2 separate regions of the Homo sapiens genome follow, and region 2 is linked to region 1. Evidence: promoter capture Hi-C in human tissues and cell types (Jung and others, 2019). All regions are on one chromosome and are shown on one strand. The core of a region is centred on a gene start or on the middle of the fragment in contact, and the rest is flanking DNA. Distances in the headings are between cores, read along the strand shown. Region 1 holds the start of KBTBD11 (kelch repeat and BTB domain containing 11). Region 2 overlaps FBXO25 (F-box protein 25).

Region 1 (4,599 bases), core at 1,478-3,977:
ATGCTTTAATTTATTCTTAAAGTTTTTGCTCATTGTTAAATACTTTGCAAACATGTGCTGGATACCAACACTATACTTTTAGCTTAATTACAATGATTTCAAGAGGAAAAAAAAAACAAACTCAAGACCACAATTGACACGATGAGCCCTTGACCTCCGGAGAAGGGCAGATATCGCCCTGAGTCACCAAGGGAACACATGCTGAATGACAGGCTGATTTGTGATCAGGAAACCCGCTGTTCTCCGGGCCCTTCTCAAGCCCACTCAGACACCAGTCCTCCTTGATCACAGCCTTGGATGCAAGGAGGCTTAGAGGCACTGCAGCTGCCTAAGTGATTCCAGATTTGCAGGAGAGCTATTATTACTGAGCAATCTGTGCTCTTGGTATTTAGAAAACAACTGAAACATGTGCCCAGATGGAGGCGTCCACAGCACGGAGAGTCTCTCTGTATCAGCACAGGGACAAAGACGGGACCTGCTGGGCTCCCACTGCCAAGGTTGCTACCTGTACCGGAACATATGGAAACCCCATTGAAGCGGGTTTGTATTGGAGTTTACAAATGATGCGATAAGCTCCAAACCACCTTTCCGGATTCTTCCATCCACCCAGAGCAAGGTGCTCTGAGGTTCAAGTTAGGCCCAGACATCAGTCAACACAGAGTCCTGCTCCCTGGGAATTTCTTTAGTCTCAGAGCCACAACATTTAAGCTTTCTCCCCTCCTCCCAAGCCCAATGCTGGCTTAAATACAGTCACGAATGGTTCAGATGCAGACAGGTTCTGAGAAATGATAGTTAGATAACTTCATCACTGTGCAAACATCACACAGGGCACCTACACACCTAGGCGGTGCAGCCTGCTACACACCTGTGCTCCACTGCACAGACTCCTGCTCCAGACTGCACACCTGTGCAGCGTGCACAATACCGCAGGCAATTGTAACACAATGGTGTTTGTGTATCTACACATTTCTAAGCATGAAAAAGACACAGGGAAAACAGTTTTATAATCTTACAGGACCACCGTCAACTTGGCGGTCTGTAATTGATCCGAACGTGGCTGTGCTACACATCACTATAATGTAAGCAACATCTTTTAACTGATTTTATTATGTGCTGTCCAATGCTATGGCCAGCAATGCCTGTGCAACTGACATGGAAAGTTCAAAGGCTTTACCTCATTACAATTTTTACTTAGTTATGCCCTGATGGGAGCATTGCAATGCCAGTTACCATAAATCTGCACACACGAGGTTGTTGCTGGAGCAAATCTGAAGGCAATGGAACGCTCCCTTCCGTGATGTCAGGAATGGGGAGGATTATTCTAATAATAGCACACTATTAGCTCAGGATAAAAGGCTGAAGGGTTCCATTGACATCCATTAAGGGGTCCTAATTGGAGCCTGAGTAACTGCTCCTTAGTGGGAAATGGAGGCGGGAACCGCGGGGAATCGGGCGAACTTCTCACTCAGGGCCTGAGGGGATGGCTGGAACTTTAAAATCTGACGGCGGCGCCTTTCGTGGGCTGAGTAGAATAAAGCTCGCTGCACTGATTTGTTCCTTTTCTTTTCCTTAGAATAGACACTGGAGTGGGTGGAGGGGGAAACGTGGTTTTGTAGGACTCTAAAGAGGTGGAGGGACTTTGGTTCACCCTCTTTTCATGCTCCAGAATGAGCCCCGCCTGAGAGGAGGGACCCCTGCGGAATCCCGCCCAGACCGCCCGGGGGTCTCCCCAGCACATGGGGCGGGGGCTGCAAGGGGCGCCCGGCAGGACTCGGGAGCCGCGGCGCGGTGGGGCGGGTGGGTCGCGGTGCTCGGGGCTCGCGGGGGTCAGCAGCCAGGACACCCCCGCACCCCGGGCGCAGCGGCGGAGGACCAAGGGCCGCGCTCCCCTCCCCAGGGCCCCGAGTCCAGGAGAGACCCCCGTTCGCTCCGGACAGCCGATCCCCGCGACCGCCGAGAGCCAAGCGGAGCAACCCCGGGAGGAGCCCCCGCCCTGGCCCCGCGCGCTTGGCTTCGGCTTCTGCTCCTGCTTCCGTGCCGGCTGGGGCGGCGGGACCCTCGGCGGGGGCGGTGACTGCGGGCGCGGCGCGGGCGGCTCATTGTCTTCCGGCCGGGGTTGCCGCGTCCCGGGGGAGGGCCTGTGGAGACCCCGCGAGGAGGCCCCCACGCCCCCCACGCGGCCTCCCGGAGGCGGAGCGGAGACCACCCACCGCCGCCCACCCCGCCGCGGGCAGCGCTGCCCCCTCCTCTCCCGGTCCCCCCTCCCCTCCCCTCCGCTCCGCTCCCCTCCCTCCCCTGCCGGCCTCCCCTCCCCGCCTCTCCCCTGCCGGCCTCCCCTTTTCTCCCCTCCCGCCTACTGCCGCTCTCGCCGACCACCTCCCACCCGCCGCCCCCTCCGACCCGCGCCTCGGGCTGCTTCCCGCTCCGCCCGCCAGGCCCCGCCGCTGCCTCCCCGGGGTCCGCCCTACCTCGCCGCGGCTCCTCTTCAGCCGCCGGGCCCGGGACGCGCAGCCAGGCGGGTGGGCTCCGGCGCATGCGCGCGGCCGCTTCCCGGCACCTGTGGGAGCCGCGGCCCGGCCTCTCCGAGCACCTGCGAGCGGGAGCTGCTCCTCCGACCCGCAGCGGGGCGTGGGCGGCAGAGGGGGCGGTGGACAGGCCTCTCCGCCTCTCCAGGCCGCGCGGAGCCAGCGCTCCGGCTCCAGGCTGCGAGGGGCGCGCGCGGGGCGCGGGGAGGGGGGCGGGCGCGTGCACACGGGGCGTTTTCGGGCGCGCGCCCCCTGGCTGGGTCTGCGGAGGGGCTGTGGGTTCCCCGGGGCTTCCCTGCCCCGCGCCTGCCCGCCGGGCGCTTCTCCCCCTCCAGGACCGCGGCCCACGTCGCCACTCGAGCCCGAGCCCGAGCCCGCGCCCACGCGCGGGGGCCGCTTCCTGCGAGGAGGCGGGGACAGGTGTCCGCGGGCGCAAACAGCGGAGTTTCGTGCGCCTATTTTTTGGTAAAAGTAGAGGCGATGCGTTGTTGACATATTTAGTGGTTAAAAACTTATTGCCAAATTCTCAACAGATTCCAGAATTTTTTAAAGTTCACAACACGAGAGTGGACGAAATGTCGGAGCTTTTGCTCATATCCAGAAATGTGGCCTCTGCCTCCCACTCGGGCCCTGCGGTGCAGACGGGTTCAGGGCGGCGAGGACTGAGCCAGGAGCGCCGAGAGTTCCAGCTGCTCCCAGGCTGGGTTCTAATTAACGCTGGACCCCTGCTGGTAAATGCTATTTTTAATGGCTTTGTGCAAATTAATGACGATGAGATTTCCATAAGTACCGAGAGCCAGAGCCTTTACTTTCTCTTTTTGTGTTCTTTTTGCTTGTGACAGTCTTTGCCAGTTCCATGCTGTATACACATAATGAGCCGTTACAACTCCAGCACCAAAGCTAACGCCCCGGGAACATCTTTAAAACCTTTTTCACTCTGTTGCCAAGAAGAGTAGTACCTGCTGTCAGTACTTGAATTACAGGAGGCTGAAACTCAGCGAGCTACTGGGATTTTTTGAAAATTGAAAACTTCCGTTAACTATAGCAGAAACAGACCCTTTTGGTGGAAGCTAAAATAATTCCCATGCTGCTCCGTTTTTATTTTGTTCAGTTTACTCCAAAAATGTTCCAAACTCTACTGTGATCTTCTTAGTGCATCTCTACTTCCTTTCGGCTGCAGAATAATACTTCTTTTTCTCTTTTGTTTTTTTTTAGAGATGGAGTCTCACTCTGTCGCCCAGGCTGGAATGCAGTGGTGCAATCTCGGCTCACTGCGATCTCTGCGTCCTGGGTTCAAGCAATTCTCCTGCCTCAGCCTCCCAAGTAGCTGTGACTACAGGCATGCACCACCACACCCAGCTAAATTTTGTATTTTTAGTAGAGACAGGGTTTCACTGTACATTGGCCAGGCTGGTCTCGATCTCCTGACCTCAAGTGATCCACCTGTCTTGGCCTCCCAAAGTGCTGGGATTACAGGCATGAGCCACCGCGCCTGGCCTAACTACCCCCATTCTTTTCCAGAGAAACGTGAACAGGCCAAACAAAGCCTCACCTGGCTATCCCGCCACCCTGGGGTTGGGCCTCCAAAGGCCCGGGAGGTCACCTAAGACACGGTGTTCTGAACATGCAAGCCCGACAGCATCTTCTCTACCATTCTGCCAGAGTCCAGAGACCTGGGAATAGGTCATACCCCCCACTGCATTTTACAAGCTTGGCATACATTAGGTTCTCAATAAATACTGAATTAATGAAAAAATTGCTGAAGTAACTGAAAACATCCATCCAAACCCCACACCATCTGGTAGATAAGTAGTCTGTGGGGAGTCCCATATTTTTCTTACCTTAGATATTTATTTGGAAATGGACTGTAGGCCCAATATGGTCAATGAAACTTGCAGAGGAACATTTCATGCCTTTAATTAGTTCTTCATAACTGCAGGGACCTCTAGAGTTCCTGAAATTGAACTGGGTTGTAATACTGTCAAGAAAAAGGAGGACCTATCTTAAATCTATTTCAAGGGTAATACTATTTTACTATGTAAATTTTCCCCTGGTCAGGGACAGCCTGATCATG
Region 2 (4,670 bases), core at 1,200-3,699, 1.6 Mb after region 1:
ACAAGCTTTAAATAAGTTTTACAGCTATCAACATTAAATACATCTTAGCGTGGCAGAGAACTGCTACAATATAAGTTTAAAAATATTATGTGTTATCCTCACTGTAACTAAAATGGAAAATTAATTTCTGCTTCAAATACTGCAAAAACCAGTCTCTGGCCTAAAGTTACTGAACTTCTGTCAGAAAAACATATGGCCCATCAAGCACACAGTTGATAATTACACAAATGTAAAATAATATACAATAAATGACTAGACCCATGACATTCTAGAGGAGGCTATCTCAAGACCTTCCTAGCCCTCCAAATTCTCAAACACCACTGTGGTAGACACTGTAGTCATCATACAATAGCCACCTACCCTGGTACTGTGCTCATGCAGTCTCTGGTTTTTATCTGGACACATGGCTGGGCCACAACCCCCAGCATCCCTTGCGCTAGTGCTCTAGCCAACAAGGTGTGGGCAACGTGATGCATGTAACTTTTGGGCTGTGCCACTGAAACACAGGTCGTGTCTCACCAACCCCACCTACCCTTCGGCCTGAGCGCAAATGTAGCAGGTAATACACCGTTTTGGACCATGCAGGTAAGGCTGCACTCTTGGGATGGCAGAGCGACAAGACAGACTGTGCTTGGCCCCTTGACAATGTTACGAGCAAAGTCATCATGCCAACTCAGGCTTTCAAGGGAGAAAAACTGATTTGTCTTGTGTAAGCCACTATTACTACATTTCTGATATATGCCACCAAAACTGTGCATTTCAATTTCCTCAGGTTCCTCAGCTATAATGTGGGATTAAAAATAATACCTCTCTCCCAATTATTGTGAGGATTAAATGTTTTAAATTAAAAAAAAAAAGACGAAAGCATCTGTGTATGAATATTAGGCAATCTACTAGCCTCATTTTTTAGCTAAACAACTTGTCTCTTCACACCAGCCTTCTGGGTGGGCAAGTCTCAAAAGTTATGGAGCTTTGCAGGGACTTGAAAAATAGGTAAGGCCATACATGCTAAACTGGCAAATGGCATGGTTCTGCTCAGCTGTAACTTACATGCTGTGACTGATGTTACAACGGTTATTCTCTCTTTCAAGTTTCTGACTACAAGATTCACATCTCTTCCAGCCATCTTCTGTCTTAATCCAACTCCATCCAGGAGATCTCCAGTCCTGACCCAAAAATGGCATAGTTCTCCTATGAAAAAGTTAAATTATGTTAAAAAGTATATATAATTCATAAAAGTTTCTTTTCACTTAGAACATTTATTAATTTTAAAGATTAAAGTTCTTAACATTTAAATGTCTGCTCATTAATTAAACGTTGGCTCGACATTGGTGACAGTGACAATAACACAGTACTGTGTACTAAAGTGATCAAATGGGGTAAGTAAACGTGGTTTTACTGGCCTAATACTGCGTATCCCATGAAAGGTTTACCAGAGGTGACATTCTAGCTCATACCTGAAAAACAAGCAGGGGTCAGGGAGTGTGGAATAGGGAATATTATTCCAAACAAGTATTCTCTCTTTGCCAGAAGTTAGAAGCAACCGAAAATGAAATGTATTCATGTTCAGCAACTCTAAGTAGTTCAGTTTGGTTGAAGCTTAGAATAGATGAGAGAGAGTGGGCCAGAATTAAGGATGGAGAAGTCATTTAAGGCTGGATCAAGTTAGAGGAGTTGGATGCTATTCTGAGGGCAATGAGGGGCCAAAAAAGGGAAGTAAGCAGGTAAGTGATTCAATCAGATTTGTGGTTTACAAAGAACTCAGTATCACAGTGGGAGAAGGTATGGGGTGAGGGTCACCTGGAGGAAAGTAGTTGGGACTGGAGGCTTCTGAATGTTGACCTTTAAAAGGTGAGAGTATACAGTGGCAAAATAAACAGAAGAGCAGAGACTGCAGAAATATTTAGGAAACAGAGTCAAACAGTACTTGAAGACTGTCTGGAAACGTGAGGAGGAAATCAAGGAAGTTATCTAGATTTTGTTTTGTAGCCCCTGGATCTGGGATAAGACATACAGAAGGAACAGCAGGGTTTTATTAGGAAAGGAGAGATAAGGGATATTAATTTCAGCTTAGGACATGCCTGTTCAGTTTGAAATACCAGACTCCAGGTATAAAAATTATGACTTAAAAAATGATGCAACTTCGTGATTAACTTCATGACGCTCACAATTTGATAAGAGTGAGACTTCAAATGCTAGTTCTTCCCACTGACTTGATTTCTGCTCCTCTTGATCAGTGGTTTTCAACTACTGCTGTGCATTAACATCACAGGAAGCTTTTTAAACATTCAAGTGCTTAGTCCCATCTTAGTTCAGTTAAATATGAATATTTGGGGGTGAAGGCTAAGTTTAAGTAGTTTTTAAAGGTCCACAGGTGATTCTCATACACAGTGAGACTGTGCATGAGGCTAAAAACCACCTCAGATGCTCACACTGCTGATTCAAAATGTCACATCCCAGAAAGGCTCCCTGACTCCCCGTCCAAACAGCGCCCTTCTGCTGCCTCAACCCCCTCCCTACCAGTCTAAGCCATTATCTAGTGCCTTCATAGTTGTAAGGGCTGTCTGAAATGATTAGCGTGTTTATCATCTGTTTTCCTCCAAGAAAATGCAATGTCTTGTTCAGGTCCGTATTCCATTACCTTGAACAATGCCAGGAAAACAACAGGAGCTCTATAAGTATTTATTTACTGAATGAATAAATATATACATCCATGGTTCAGAAGAGAGTTAGACTAGAGAGAAAGAGGAAAATCATGAGCATTCAGACACTAATCAAAACCACACAAATAATATCACAGAATATGTCGAGAGGGAAATCAAGAGAGCCAAGAAAAAAACCCTAAGAAACATCACCATTTAAGGGATCGGCAGATATAAGCCAAGAAGAAAAACTGAAAAGGAAGAGCCAAAAAGGTAGAGGGAGAAGTAGGAAGTCAGGAGAAAAATGTATTTCAGGAAAGAAATGGTCGACAGAGACGAAAATGTTATAAAAATGCCAAGCATGGCAAGAGTTGAAAATATACGTTGAATTTAGCTACAGAAAGGTAGCTGAATTACTCAAGCAAAAGTGGTTTCTGTAATGTATTACTTTAATTTCACGTCCCGAACAGACTTGAGTATTTTATAATATAGAATATTTATATCGTAGAGAAAAATGTAGAATATTTACATCATGGAGAATAAATGAGAGATGAACATCTCCAAACACCACCTCCCAACTATATTTAGTATAATTAACAAAAAACAAGCTATTAAATGGGCACTTATACAATCCTAGAAGATACAGAAAAAAAAGGAAGGAAATTACATAGACTTCAACAATATTCCTGGATCAACCACAAATGCTTAATTCTTGACTGGTGTAGGAAATGATGAAGTAATTATTCTTTACACGAAGAAAATCTCAAACCTTGCTAAACTGACTTATAGTCAGAACATGTCTTTTTCAGTCACATAATGATTAATTTAAATTCTTGCTTTAGAAAATACTTTATTCCTTAAATTTCAGCACAATTTTGATAAACTTTGTCTCACAGAACTGCTTCACAACTACTGAACATCCTAAAATGCAAAACTCAATGCCCATGTTCAGTCGACCTAAAGTTATCTAAAACTGTCTCTAATAGCATACAGCTGATTTTATGATTTTCAAGAACATTCCCACCAAAGGCAGCAAAGACCATGAAGTAGCAGATGACTGAAGTGGCACCTTGAGTCTCATAAAACACATTCAACAGAAAATGGCTGCTAGGAACATCTCTGATAATTATCAAATTATCTCTCAATATCAACTTGAAACTGTGGATTCAGAAATCTATATTAAAAAAAAAAATCAAGTGGATAATCCTGAAAAATATTGCTAACAGACCAAATACAGGATTACTTCAACGACAAACATTTGAGCACCAACTACATGTTATTATGCTAGATGTTCCTGCCCTCAAAAGTGTGCAATTTAGCTAAGGAACTAAAAAAGAACAATAGCAAAACACACACAAATTCCATACAAGTGTAATATAATAAAGTGTGTTTACATGTAGATATGTGAGTGTGCATGTATACATACATACAGATATGTCCACAATCTTGTAACTTGTGGTAAAGAGAGAATAAAGTTAATTTGAGCAGAAAGCAAATCAGCTGGGAAAGCTCTGACTAGAAACTAGGACTCGATCTTCGCCCTGAAGCATGGTTAGATCTTAAATGAATGGAGAGGCAAGGCAAAAAATATCAATCATGGGAATGGTGGGTGAATAAGTATAAAGGGCAAAATGTGTGCCACAGTTTGAGAAAAATAAGCAGAAAAGATGGGATAAAATGGAGAAAGTTTATCAGAGGACTGGTACATAAGCGACTAGAAGCCAGGTCATAGAAGAATATCAAAGGTGTTTAGACTTTATTCTGTCAGTAATTAAACGTTTTTCAGCAACAGATCAGCGTGAGCAGTGTTGTTTTGAGAATAATAATTTTCTAGGGCTTGTAGGATAGATCAAATGAAAAACATGGAGACAGAAAAAAACAACTAGGCAACAAATATCTTGCCAACAGAACCTTATCTGGATGACTGTCCTATGTACATCCCGGTATCCTCAGCTGAAAAAATATTTTAAAACTTGATGACACACAAATATTGTACTTACCTATTTAGACACTATGCCCACTCATCAT

Evidence for each region. Contacts are between HindIII fragments. The study calls those that stand out against the background at their distance.
Region 2: a contact is called between a fragment that was not itself captured here and the fragment with the promoter of KBTBD11 in region 1, in 1 of the 25 tissues and cell types used here (dorsolateral prefrontal cortex).

Annotation. Positions count from the first base shown.
Region 1 is chr8:1,971,805-1,976,403 of GRCh38, reverse strand. KBTBD11 (kelch repeat and BTB domain containing 11) reads right to left here and starts at 2,727. Exons shown (of 2, transcript NM_014867.3): 1 at 2,469-2,727. It overlaps KBTBD11-AS1 (KBTBD11 antisense RNA 1), which reads left to right and starts at 3,059. Exons shown (of 3, transcript NR_136275.1): 1 at 3,059-3,256; 2 at 3,741-3,864; 3 at 4,047-4,599. KBTBD11-OT1 (KBTBD11 overlapping transcript 1) reads right to left here. Exons shown (of 3, transcript NR_126346.1): 2 at 4,367-4,479; 3 at 1-505. The HindIII fragment of the contact is 1,977 bases long and covers 2,473-4,449 here.
Region 2 is chr8:409,594-414,263 of GRCh38, reverse strand. It overlaps FBXO25 (F-box protein 25), which reads right to left. Exons shown (of 10, transcript NM_183420.2): 2 at 1,051-1,191. The coding sequence starts at 1,184. Among named protein-coding and RNA genes, the nearest start is that of FBXO25, 5.0 kb to the right of the region's middle. The HindIII fragment of the contact is 3,294 bases long and covers 803-4,096 here.